Regions from separate parts of the Homo sapiens genome. Here regions 1, 2 and 4 are each linked to region 3. Evidence: promoter capture Hi-C in 16 types of primary human blood cells and fetal thymus (Javierre and others, 2016). All regions are on one chromosome and are shown on one strand. Each heading gives the region's core, a stretch centred on a gene start or on the middle of the fragment in contact. The rest is flanking DNA. Distances are from core to core; before and after follow the strand shown.

What was found. The method cuts DNA at HindIII sites, captures the fragments that hold promoters and counts their contacts. A CHiCAGO score of 5 or more calls a contact.
Region 1: a fragment that was not itself captured here is called in contact with the fragment with the promoter of LYN in region 3 in 1 of 17 cell types (neutrophils); the score reaches 6.0 in neutrophils.
Region 2: a contact is called between a fragment that was not itself captured here and the fragment with the promoter of LYN in region 3, in 7 of 17 cell types (naive B cells, erythroblasts, total B cells and 4 more). The highest score is 8.6, in naive B cells.
Region 4: a contact is called between a fragment that was not itself captured here and the fragment with the promoter of LYN in region 3, in 1 of 17 cell types (neutrophils). The highest score is 7.5, in neutrophils.

What each region holds. Positions count from the first base shown.
Region 1 is chr8:55,736,948-55,740,027 of GRCh38, reverse strand. It overlaps TMEM68 (transmembrane protein 68), which reads left to right. Exons shown (of 8, transcript NM_001286657.2): 8 at 1-1,270. Among named protein-coding and RNA genes, the nearest start is that of TMEM68, 35 kb to the left of the region's middle. The HindIII fragment of the contact is 3,116 bases long and covers 1-2,946 here.
Region 2 is chr8:56,061,208-56,064,567 of GRCh38, reverse strand. No RefSeq gene overlaps it. Among named protein-coding and RNA genes, the nearest start is that of SNORD54, 11 kb to the left of the region's middle. The HindIII fragment of the contact is 4,265 bases long and covers 1-3,360 here.
Region 3 is chr8:55,877,997-55,881,351 of GRCh38, reverse strand. LYN (LYN proto-oncogene, Src family tyrosine kinase) reads right to left here and starts at 1,517. Exons shown (of 13, transcript NM_002350.4): 1 at 1,249-1,517. RefSeq lists silencers at 734-913, 944-1,233, 1,314-1,483, 1,504-1,563 and enhancers at 1,714-1,773, 2,334-2,423. The HindIII fragment of the contact is 13,046 bases long and covers 1-3,355 here.
Region 4 is chr8:56,089,790-56,093,294 of GRCh38, reverse strand. No RefSeq gene overlaps it. Among named protein-coding and RNA genes, the nearest start is that of CERNA3, 17 kb to the right of the region's middle. The HindIII fragment of the contact is 2,438 bases long and covers 883-3,320 here.

The sequences.
Region 1 (3,080 bases), core at 139-2,638, 140 kb after region 3:
AAAAAATCATGTTAATAAGCATCTTTCACAGAATTCGTTTCTTTAAAATAGTCAATTTTGTTTTTGCAATTGTGTCAAATACTAACAAATTACACACCTAGTAATTCAGAAAAAGATGTCTTATTTGTAAATTCCTAACAATTTATGCTAAACATATAGATTCTTAAGTTTATTAATAACAGCAGTTTAGGTTAAACAAACATTCCTGGATAATGCGTTAAATTTCTGTATCTGTCGCCCTGAGCTGATTTTGAAAGATGGTATAAGCTAGGGGTTAGTATAGTTGTTTAAGTTAGAAAAAACATGCTGTTGTCTGCCCCTCATTCCCTTCATGACCTTGGGCAAGTCACGTAATGTTTTTGTGCCTCAACAATTCACTTTTTAAAAACATGATCGTATGATGAATGATATTATTTTGTTATTTATATTTACTGTGATTGATAACTGTTGAACCAAAATAATAAAATAATTAATTTAAACAATGTCAAAATCCTTTAGCAGTTATGTATATATTTTCTCCATTGTGTGTTTAAATTATGTCATGTCCAGTTGCCAAGCACAATGAAAAAGATGTATTATTTTTTAAATTGAATAAAAAATTAGGAAAAATAAAATTTCTAATTATTATTTTTAGTATGATATTTTTAACAAGAGTCTATAGGCAAACAATATAGGGTGTGCTGTGCATTGTCAGCCCTATACTGTGGTCTTAATAATGCCAGCTTAAAAATCACTGTTGTGCTCTGCATTTCGTGTGTTAGAAGCTGATTCTAGGCTGAGGAAAGCAAGAGTTCTCTACTTTTGCTCAATATTGAGGCTTACCCAGTTTGACTCTACAGCCAGTGAAGTGGTTTATTGCTTCAATAAAAATATACTTGAATGATGAATTTATTTATGTTTTGTTTTGTTTTTATTTAGAGATGGGGTTTTGCCATGTTGGCCAGGCTGGTCTTGAACTCCTGACCTCAGGTGATCCACCTGCCTCAGCCTCCCAACTTGCTGGGATTACAGGTGTGAGCCACCATGCCCAGCCTGAATGATGAATTTATGTGAACACAAAGCCCTCTGAAAAATTAATGATTTTCAATTTGTTGTCTTCTTGAAAACTGAATTTAAGTATTATTTAAACAGAAAAGTGTCAGAAATCAAATGCAGTATCTCCCTCTCCCTTTTTTAAATGTTGAATTAGTAGGGTTTTTGTATAGCTTTTTGTATTGTGTGTATTTATGATATGTGAAATGTACATAAAATTAAACAATGTGAAAATAAACCTGAGTTGCAGTTAATTTTCTTGAGAAATTACATGTGACATTTTAAAAATCTTTTTTTTTTTTTTTCTGAGATGGAGTCTCGCTGTGTCTGTTTCCCAGGCTGGAGTGCAGTGGCACCATCTTGGCTCACTGCAACCTCCGCCTCCCAGGTTCAAGCAATGCTCCTTCTGTCTTCTGAAGGAGCCTCCTGAGTAGCTGGGATTACATGAGTGTACCACTACACCTGGCTAATTTTTGTGTTTTTAGTAGAGACAGGGTTTTACCATGTTGGCCAGGCTGGTCTTGAACTGCTGACCTCAAGTGATCCGCCCACCTCAGCCTCCCGAAGTGCTGGGATTACAGGTGTGAGCCACTGCGCCCACCCTAAATAGTCATTTTAAATTGATTTTTTTGTTGTACTCTTTACACATTTCTCACCTATAATCATATTCTTTGATCTAGCCACAATGAAGAAACTTCACTTTCCAGTGTAATAAATATATTTTAATTTTGTGGTCAATGAGAAGAGTCAATTAATGATTACTTGCAGTTTCCTCCCCCCACCAGTGAGCAGTGTTTGGTTCAAAATTGATGAAATATTTCAGAATGAATGAATAAATGATATAAAATGAATGAGAAATTTGTTTTGGGTCAACTATTGAGTTTTAAAGACTGAAGTTAGCCAGGAGTGGTGTCATGAACCTGTAGTCCCAGCTACTTGGAAGGCTGAGGCGGGAGAATTGCTTGAGCCCAGGAGTTCGAGGCTGCAGTGAGTCGCAATTGTGCCACTGCACAGCCTGAGTGATAGAGCAAGCCCATGGTTCTATTAATAAAGACTAAAGAAAGAACAGCATTTATTGCTAATGTGGCAAAAGCTATTATTTTTACAATATTTAAGTTTTACTGCTTTAATTAAAACCTTTTTTTAAAACCCTGATATTCAGACTAACATCATTGCTTCAGATCTTTATCTTTGCTATTTGAGTTTAATTCCCATTTATAAGAGTCAGAGAATATGACTAAATATAGAAATATGGCTGGGCATGATGGCACACACCTATAATCCCAGCACTTTGGGAGGATTGCTTGAGGCCAGGAGTTTGAGACCACCTGGACAACATAACAAGACCTCTTATCAAATAAAATTTTTTTGTTTTTAAATTAAGCTGGGTTCAGTGGCTCACACCTGTCATCCTAACACTTTGGGAGGCTGAGGCAACTGGGTCACTTGAGCCCAGGAATTCAAGACCAGCCTGGGTGAAATCCTGTCTCTACAAGAAAACGCACAAAAATCGGCTGGGTATGGTAGTGCACACCTGCAGTTACAGCTACCTGGGAGGCTGAGGTGGAAGGTTGAGCCTGGAGAGGTCAGGGCTGCAGTGAGCCATGATTGTGCCACTGCACTCCAGCCTCAGCAACAGAATGACACCCTGTCTCAAAAAAAAAAAAAAAAAAAAAAATTAAAACAAAAGAAATATAAGTAATGGGAAGAAGGTGTATCAGTTTTTTTTCATAATTTTTCTTTCCCTTCTTATCACTTCTATTCATGTGTCTTGACCCTTTTTTGAGGAGTGTTCACAGTCAGAACCTGATGCAAGTATGAAGAGCCTCTCTCCAGAAGTGTAAACATGGCGCACTTATGGGAAGTTTTTCTTGCTCATTTTTAAAAACTTTCATTCTGAAACAATTCGAAGCTTACAGAAAAGTTGCAATTATAGTGCAGAGTACTCCCATACACTCTTCACCCAGATTCACCAAGGTAACATGTCACATTTGTTTTATTCTTTTCACACTCCTGTTGCCCTCGCTGTCTCCACATATGTATCTATA
Region 2 (3,360 bases), core at 799-3,298, 180 kb before region 3:
TGTTTTGTAGAATTCACCTGTGAAGTCCTGTGGTCCTGGGGTTTTCTTTGTTGGGAGGTATTTTGGTTGCTGATTAAATCCTTACTAGTCATAGGTCTGTTTGGGTTTTTTATTTCTTCATGAATTAGTTCTGGTATGCTGTATATTTCTAGGAATTTATCCATTTCTTCTAGATTACCCAATTTGCTGGTGTATAATTGTTCATTGTATTCTTGTTAATCCTTTTAATTTCTGTAGCATCATTTATAATGTCCCATATGGCATTTCTAATTTTAGTTATCTTCTCTCTTTTTTCTTGGTTAATCTAGCTCAGAGTTTGCCAATTTTTTGACCTTTTCAAAAAACCAACTCTTAGTTTCATTTTTAAATTCCATTTATATCTCTGTTCTAATCTTAGTTATTTTCCTCCTTTTTTTTGCTAACTTCGGGTTTCATTTTTTCTCCTTTTTCTTGAGGTTTAAAAGGGTTTCTTGCAGGGCGCAGTGGCTCACGCCTGTAATTCCAGCACTTTGGGAGGCCGAGGTGGGCGGATCATGAGGTCAGGAAATTGAGACCATCCTGGCTAACACACGGTGAAACCCCATCTCTACTAAAAATACAAAAAAATTAGCCGGGCGTGGTGGCGGACGCCTGTAGTCCCAGCTTCTCAGGAGGCTGAGGCGGGAGAATCGCTTGAACCCGGGAGGCGGAGCTTGCAGTGAGCCGAGATCACGCCACTGCACTCCAGCCTGGGCGACAGAGCAAGACTCCGTCTCAAAAAAAAATAAAAAAATAAGAACAATAATAATAAAAAGCGTTTCTTGAGGTATAAAATTAGGGGTTTCTTGAGGTATAAAATTAGGTTGTTTCTTTTAGCTATTTCCTCTTCTTTTTTCTTAGAGATACAGTATGGCTCTGTCACCCCAGCTGGAGTGCAGTGGAAGGGTCACAGTTCACTGCAACCTCGAACTCCTGGGCTCAAGCAATCTTCCTACCTCAGCCTCCTTAGCAACTGTAACTACAGGGCCACTATGTCCAGCTATTTTTTATTTATTATTTTTTGTAGAGATGGGTTCTCACTATGTTGTCCAGGCTAGTCTTGAACTCCTGGTTTTAATCAATCCTCCTACCTCAGCCTCCCAAAGATCTGGGAGTACAGGCATGAGGCATCACACCTGGCCTATTTCTTCTTTTTTAATGTAAGCATTTACAGCTATAATCTTCCTTCTTGGTAATGCTTTCACCGCATTCCATAAGTTTTGATATATTGTATTTTCATTTTCATTTGTCTCAAGATATTTTCTAATTTCTCTTGTGATTTATTTTTTTCTTTTTCTTTCTCTCTCTTTTTTTTTTTTTTTTTTTTTTTGAGACAGAGTCTCACTCTGTTGCCCAGGCTGGAGTGCAGTGGCACAATCTTGTCTCACTACAACCTCCGCCTCCCAGGTTCAAGCAATTCTCCAGCCTCAGCCTCCCGAGTAGCTGGGATTACAGGTTCCTGCCACCACACCCGGCTGATTTTTTGTATGTTTAATACAGACGGGGTTTCACCATGTTAGCTGGGCTGGCCTCGAACTCCTGACCTCAAGTGATCTGCCTGCCTCAGCCTCCAAAGTGCTGGGATCACAGGCGTGAGCCACCGTGCCTGGCTTAGAAATGGGGTTTCACCATGTTGGCAAGGCTGGTCTCGAACTCCTGATTTCAGGTCATCCACAGGCCTCGGCCTCCCAAAGTCCTGGGATTACAGGCGTGAGCCACTGTGCCCGGCCTCTTGTGGTTTCTTCTTTGACTCATTGGTTGTTTAATAGTTTGCTCTTTAATTGCCACATGTGTGTGGATTTTCCGTTTTCCTTCTGCTACTGATTTCTAGTTTCATTCTATCGTGGTTGGAAACGATTACTTTGTATGATTTCAGTCTTCTTAAATTTGTTAAGACTTGTTCTGTGGCCTAACCTGTGATTTATTCTGGAGAATGATCTCTGCACTTGAGAAGAATGTGTATTCTGCTGTTGTTGGATGGCGTGTTCTCTATATGTCTATCAGGTCTAATTGGTCTATAATGTTCAAGTCTTGTTTCCTTATTGATCTTCTGTCTGGTTGACTTAGTCTACTTCGTCTGACAGTAGAATGGCCACCTCTGCTCTCTTTTGGTTACCATTTGCATGGAATAACTTTTTCCATTTTTTCACTTTCAGCCTATGTGCATCCTAGATCTAAAGTGAATCTCTTATAGAAAGCATACAGTTGGATCTTGTTTTTTTTTTTTTAATTCATTCAACCAATCTGTGTCTTTTGATTGGGGAGTTTAATTCATTTATATTTAAATTAATTACTGATAATGAATGACTTACTATTGCCATTTTGTTGTTTTCTGTGTATCTTGTAACTATTTTTTCTCTCTTCCTCTTGTACTGCCTTCCTTTATGTTTCATTAGTTTATTTTTATTTATTTATTTATTTTTGAGATGGAGTTTCGCTCTTGTTGCCCAAGCTGGAGTGCAATGGCGCGATCTCGGCTCACTGCAACCTCCGCCTCCTGGCTTCAAGTGATTCTCCTGCCTCAGCCTCCAGAGTAGCTGGGATTACAGGCATGCGCCACCATGCCCAGGTAATTTTTTGTTTTTAGTAGAGATGGGGTTTCACCATGTTAGCTGGGCTGGTCTCCACCTCCTGACCTCAGGTGATCTGCCCACCTTGGTCCCCCAAAGTGCTGGGATTATAGGTGTGAGCCATCTTGCCCGGCCTCATTAATTTTTGTAGTGACATGCTTTGATTCCCTCCTCTTTTCCTTGTGTGTATCTTCTATAAGTATTTTTTTTGTAGTTACTATGGGGATTATATAAAACATCTTAAAGTTATAATAATCTATTTTAAACTGATACAACTTAACTTTAATCACTTACGAAAACTCTACTTTGTTACATATTTGTCCTCTGGTGAATTTTTCAGTTCAGCTATTTTTCCACTCCAGAATGTGTGTTTTTCTTTTTAATAGTTTTAATTTCTTTATTGATATTCTCATTTTATTCATGCATTGTCTTTCTGACTTTGTTTAGTTGTCTATTTGTGTTCTCTTTTAGCTAATTGAGCTTCTCTATAATGATTATTTTTAATTGTTTATCAGTTAATTCATAGTTCTCTACTTCTTTAGAGTTGGTTGCTGAAGATTTATTTTGTTCATTTGATTGGGCCATTGTGTTGGTCTGTTTCTGTGTTGCTGTAAAGAAACACCTGGGGATGGGTAATTTATAAAGCAAAGAAGTTTAATTGGCTCATGGTTCTGCAGGCTATACCAGCATGGCTCCAGCATCTGCTTCTGGTGAGGGCCTCAGGAAACTTAATCATGGCGGAAGGCAAAGTGGGAGCAGCCACATCACATGG
Region 3 (3,355 bases), core at 268-2,767:
GTTTATTGGCTAGTTCTTTAGGGAAAGTCAGACTACTGGGCCCTGCTTTGGGACAGCAAATCCCTCATGTATTTATTAAGCAGATTTACTAATAAGGTCAGATGGCTAAATCTGACATGGTAGTCTTAGCTTCAACATCACCAAGCTGCAAAGAACCAAGAAGCCTCATTTATATGAATAGAATTCACTGCAATAAATAACAGTAACATCGTTTATGAAATGCTTGGTACGTACTAGGGGCTTTGTGTGTACTAAACAGCCCCTGAGGTATATATGCTCTCTCAAAGATGAAGAAACTCAAACAGGGAATTTCAATAATCGGTCCCCTAAATATACAGCCAGAAAAGTGCAAGGCCTAGATTCTGAGCTGGCGAAGAAGGGCGAATTTGGGATAATTAACACACTCGGATATACAAAAACACAACCGCTAATCCACATGACAGGCAGGCTGTTGGAAAGTTACGAATGCACCGCAAGCAAAAGATGCCACCATGGGCCCAGAGAATGCAGGAAAGTGGGAACTGACTCTTACGCCCTTCCCCCAAGGCGAAGGAAAGGCAACCCCTGAATTCTTAAAATAACTCTCGCTTCCTCTCAGCCGGCAAAAGCACCGGACTGCTCCTCGGCAGGCCGAGAGGCGCCGCAGCGGGAGGGTGAGTTCCAGCCTCCGCTGCAGCCCCTCGACGTCACGCTCCTGCCCGGGGCCACCAGGGAGGGCAACTGTCCGCGGGCCTCGAGAGGGCGCCGGCCGAGCCCCATCTCCCACTGCCAGGAGACCCAGGGTCCAGAGGGGAGATCAGATTGCACAATCCGAGGAGTCCTCTCCAGTATCCCCGCCGCGCGCCCGCTCCGCAAGGGCAGCGGCTTCCCCACTGTGTGCGAGAAGCGGCCGGAGCAGGGACAGCAGCCGGCCCTCGGGCCCTCACCGGGAAGGACACGCGGTGAGCCCGCCCCCGCGCCCGCACCTCCCACCGCTCCCCTGCGCGGCTCCGCGGCGGACACCTGCGGAGCCTCAGTCCCCGCGCCCTGGCTCCCCCGGGCCCGGTCACCCGTCGGCTGAAGACATCTAAGAGCCTTCGCCGCCGGAGCCCAGAGGCGGTGCGGCCAGGAAGCCGCCGCGGGCCGCGCCGATGCCCCCGGCCCCGAGTCTACCCTGCGCCCGGGACTCCGGCTGGTGGCACAGCCGCGGCCCCTGCACCCACTGCCCGCGTGCCCGCGCCCACCCCTGGGCTCGCGCAGAGGACTCACCCGCTCGCGGTGAAAGTTTCGGGGCGGCGGAGCTCCACGGTGACTTGAGTTCAGAGTGGGGGGCGCGACGGGGCGGCCCAGCAGGACCTGCGTATGGGGAGGCTGCTGGCCGGGAACGCTGGACGCGCGGCGAGGGGCTGCTGGCGCGGGGCCGGGGGTGGCGCGGCCGCCCCGCTTGCCGCGGGCTGGAGGCTGCAGCGCGTCTGGCCCGGAGGCGCCACGGCCGGGGAGCGAGCGGCAGCGCGGCCCGGCGCGGCGGGAGAGGAACTGGCTGTCTCTGGGCTCGGCCGAGAGGTCCCAGCTACTTCCTGGTGCTCGGATTTGCATATTGAGCCCGGAGGGCGGGGAAGTGACCGTTTGGTCCCTGCCCAAGGTTTGGGTGTTTGGTGTGGCCGTCGCGCAGGGCTTTGAAGGCACAGAAACCTGGCGACTCAGTCTGCAGCTCCGGGGAGTGGAGCAGCCCGGGCCAGCCTTCTCCTGTAGGGACGGACGGAAGGATCTCCAGAGGAGCCTGGGCTTCGCAGGCACATCGACTACACCTCTCGCGTCTCCTTTCCTTTCCTTCCGACCCATCCCCAAGGTATTATTAGGAAGGGGGTGCTCCCAGGAGCGGAGGAGGTGCGCTCTGATCCCTTCCAACATTAGGGGTTCTCTAGAGAAAGGATGCGATATGCCGAGGTGATGCTCGGGGTCTCGCTGAGTTCTTAATAATCATTACAAAGTAAGTTCCTTAAGGGTGTACAGGAGGCTGTTCAGGGCATTGATGGGGGAGGGGATGACGTAGAGTCAAATGGCCCGGCAAGTTCTCCGTTTCTCAAAGCCTCAGTTTCCTCCCAGGACAATGGATGTGAGGATGCCTATCTCGTGTACCTTTCTGTACAGGGCCCGCACTGCCCGCATGCAGGAATGCTGGCGTTATTTCATTCCTACTACAGCTGCGTCCCAGCATGTAGGGCAGTGCTTGCACGTAGCAGCTGGTGCCTAACCAGTGTTTGCTGAAAGAATGTGTGACCGCGTGCTCAAGCTCATGTTCAACTCAATAAATGCCACTTACAAATCCAAGATGTAAGATTAGGCTCGGGCACCGTGGATACCCACTTCTTCTAAGCCAGATTCTGTTCACTGGGATCTCAGCATTGCATTAATAGCAAACATTTACAGAGGGCCTGATGGGCCAGACACTGCCCAAAGCACTTCCTTTCTCTCATTAACAATGTTCTGAAGAGGCTGACCCCAGCTACAGAGCAATAAGTCAAAGCAGCTGCCTTGTGACACAATCTGATACAGCAGTTATTTGTTACTAGGAAAAGAGTACTAAAGTTTGCATACTAATTCCTTAAAAGAAGAAAGGTGGTTTATACCTGTGATGTTCACTGGTATGTAGTTGTTAGTTTACTGCTGAAGAGAAGGGGTGGGTTGCCCATGGAAATACCCATGGGAAGGTGTGTGATTGAAACCTATCAAGAATCCTATGGAGAAAAATAGAAAAATGAAAAAAGAACAAAACAAAACAAAATGAAACAAAAAACAATGAATCCTACAGAATAATTCACTACCTGAGGGCCTATTGCCTAGACTTTTCTTAAGAATGACCTCTCAAATATATTAACCCTACATTAAAGTTTCTGCTGCTACTGATGAATCCTTGAGATCCTGACTAAACGTGTGTGGCAAATAAGAATAGGATTCAAAAACGTTTGGTATTGGTTAATCTATCAGGAATGTCTGTCAGTGTTTTTGGTAAAATGTCTCTCAGGGTAAGGAACAAAGCATCATCAGGCTTACCTGAGCTTGCAACCAGATCCCCAACTCCCTAACTCCTCACAAAATTGTCCTCACTAAGTTCATCTCTTCATTCTTATTTGGAAAAAAACGATACGATGCTAATTTCCACTTCTTAGGCTGCATTTATACTTGCTGAATACTTCATTCAATCATTCTCCATATCTGTCTTTCCTTCTTAATGTCCCATGAAAGTTCTATTTCTCAGGAAAGTTTTATTTAAAGCTCCTATTGATAGGCAACTTTTTAAAGCATCTGTAGCATGTATGGTGTGCAACATTATTTTAAACTAGACCTAGGTACTTTTTAGCATTGTTTGCCCATG
Region 4 (3,505 bases), core at 852-3,351, 210 kb before region 3:
AGAAAAATATTTTGTCAAAATGTGACAACAGGTCAATATTTTTATTATATAAAGAATGCATACATGGCCAGGTGCAGTGGCTCATGCCTGTAATCCCAGCACTTTGGAAGGCCGAGGCAGGTGGATCACTTGAGGTCAGGAGTTTGAGACCAGCCTGGCCAACGTGGCAAAACCCTGTCTCTACTAAAAATATAAAATTAGCCTGGCGTAGTGGCACGCGCCTGTAATCCCAGCTACTTGGGAGGCTGAGGCAGAAGAATCACTTGAACCTAGGGGGTGGAGGTTGCAGTGAGCTGAGATTGTGCCACTGCACTCCAGCCTGGGCGACAGAGCTAGACCCTGTCTCAAAAAAACAAAAAGAAGAAAAGAAAGAGAAAGAAAGAAAGAAAGAAGGAAAGACAGAAAGAAAGAAAGAGAGAGAGAGAGAGAGAAAGAAAGAAAGAAAGAAAGAAAGAAAGAAAGAAAGAAAGAGAAAGAGAGAGAGGAAGGAAGGGAGGGAGGGAGGGAGGGAGGAAGGGAGGAAGGGAGGGAGGGAGGGAGGGAAAGAAGGGAAAGAAAGAAAGAGAAAGAAAGGAGGGAGGGAAGGAAGGAAGGAAAAAAGAAAAGAATAATTGAAAAAGAACACACATACATAAAAATCATCATGCCCTAATAGAGAAACGAACGAAAATCTTGAAAGTTCAATTCATAATAAAGAATATGCATTTAGGAGACAAATATGAAAAACAGGATAACGTGATCTCACAAGTACTTGAAGAATTGCAAATTTAAAATAAGGTATCTTTTTTTAAAACACCCACACATACACAATTCTTAATTTGAATAAAGTTGTGGTAAAAGAAGATCTCGCCACTCCTAGTGACAATATAAATTATTAAAGCTTTTTGGAAAATAACTGCAGTTTGGCAGTGTATCAAGAACCTCAAAAATATTTATATTCACTGATTCAGTAATTCTGCTTCTGGACCTCCATCCTATGAAATACTATAAAATAAGAATTTTAATTGAAAAAAAATCACCAAGAGCCATTTATTCTGGTAAGAAATTCAAAGAAAGATAAATGTTTTAAACTAGTTAAATAAATTGCAATAGAACAGTTGATTCAAAAGGATATGAAGATTGTGATAACAGAAATGGCTGTACTATAGTGTTCAATGAATGGGGCAGAGTACAAAATTACACATTGTTTGATTATAAGTGCTTTTTAAAATCAAGAAATTTTTCTTAAAACACACAGAGAAAAGACCGAAATTAAAGTTTCGTTTGTCTGGGGTTAGTTGTCTGGAGGGCTGTGGATTTATTTATTTAAAAAAAAACTTTTCTTGTTTTCCAATTTCTAGAAATTCTTTATAATATAAACAATCTGAAAAGAAATTAAGAAAACAATTCCATTTACAATAGTATCAAAAGAACAAAATACTTAGGAATAAACCTAATCAAGGAGGTAAAAGGCTTTTACATTGCCATAAAACATTGCTGAAAGAAGACACAAATAAATGGAAGGACATCCTGTGTTTAAAATTTTTTTTTTTTTTTAGATGGAGTCTTGCTCTGTTGCCCAGGCTGGAGTGCAGTGGCACGATCTTGGCTCACTGCAAGCTCCACCTCCCAGGTTCACGCCGTTCTCCTGCCTCAGCCTCCAGAATAGCTGGGACTACAGGCGCCTGCCACCATGCCCAGCTAATTTTTTGTAATTTTTAGTAGAGATGGGGTTTCACTGTGTTAACCAGGATGGTCTCGATCTCCTGACCTCGTGATCCACCCACCTCGGCCTCCCAAAGTGCTGGGATTACAGGCGTGAACCACCGCACCCGGCCTCATCCTGTGTTTATGAATTGGAAGATGGAGTCTCGCTCTTGTCACCCAGGCTGTAGTGCAATGGCGCTATCTTGGCTCACTGCAACCTCTGCCCCCACCCCGTTCAAGCAATTCTCCTGCCTCAGCCTCCCAAGTAGCTGGCATTGCAGGCGCCCACCCCCACGCATGGTTAATGTTTGTATTTTTAGTAAAGACAGGGTTTCACCATGTTGGCCAGGCTGGTCTCGAACTCCTGATCTCAGGTGATCTGGCCACCTCAGCTTCCCGAAATGTTGGGATTACAGAGATGAGCCACTGTGCCCAGCTGGAAGACTTAATATTATAAAAATGTCCATACTAGCCAAAGCAACCTACAGATTCAGTGGAATCCTATTTCAGAATCTAAATGTCTTTCTTTGCAGAAATAAAATTACCCTAAAATTCATATGGAATATTAAAAGATCTTTAATAGCCAAAACAATTTTGAAAAGAAAGAACAAAGTTAAATGACTCACACTTCCTGATTTCAAAACATATTACAAAGCCATAGTAATCAAAACAGTGTAGTGCTGGCATGAAAACAGACAAATAGACCAATGGAATAAAATAGAGCCCAGAAATAAACTCTTGTGTATATGGTCAAATGATCTTCAACAAATATGCTTCATTTAGTTTTTTTATTATTTCTTTCTTTACCAAAGTAACTTAAGCAAACACAAAAGTCACATCATTTTATTTCTTCATCCTTCTATTAGCATCTCTAAAATATGGACACTTTCTTACATAACCATAATGTCATTATCACTCTTAATTAACAATTTCTCACTAATATCAAATGATTTATCAATAATCAAATTTCCCTAATTGCCTCAAAATATGTTCTATGGTTGTTTTGTTTATATCAACATCTAAATAAGATGCACACATTTCTTTTAGGTGTTCTTTTAATCTAGATTCCTCCCCCCACCCAAATGTTTGTTTGCTTGTTTGCAGAAACTAGGTTCATTTTCTTTTCTTTCTTTCTTTTTTTTTTTTTTTTTTTTTGGTGATGGAATCTTGCTCTGTCGCCCAGGCTGGAGTACAGTGGCATGATCTCAGTTCACTGCAACCTCTGCCTCTCAGGTTCAAGCGATTCTCCTGCCTCAGCCTTCCGAGTAGCTGGGACTACAGGCACGAGCCACCACTCCCAGCTAATGCATTTGTAGTAGAGACAGGGTTTTGCCATGTTGGTCAGGCTGGTCTCGAACTCCTGACCTCAAGTGATCCACCCACCTCAGCCTCCCAAAGTGCTGGGATTACAAGTGTGAGCTACCACACCTGACCAAACCAGGTTTATTTTCTATTAAATGTCCCACATATTGGGTTTGCCTATTGGCTTCTGGGATAGTCCCTTTGCATTGCTATAAAGGAACACCTGAGAATAGGTAATTCATAAAGAAAAGAGGTTTATTTGGCTCACATGTCTGCAGGCTGTACAGGAAGTATAGCTCCCACATCTGCTTCCAGGGAGGGCTTAGGAAGCTTCCACTCATGACTGAAGGCAAAGGGAAACTGGCATCCCATGGTGAGAGAAGGAGCACGAGCCAGGAAGGGGGTACCAACTTCTTTTTTTTTTGAGATAGAATCTCGCTCTGTAGTCCAGGCTGGAGTGCAGTGGCCTGATCTCAGCTCACTGCAACCGCACCTCCCTGGGTTCAAGCAATTCTCC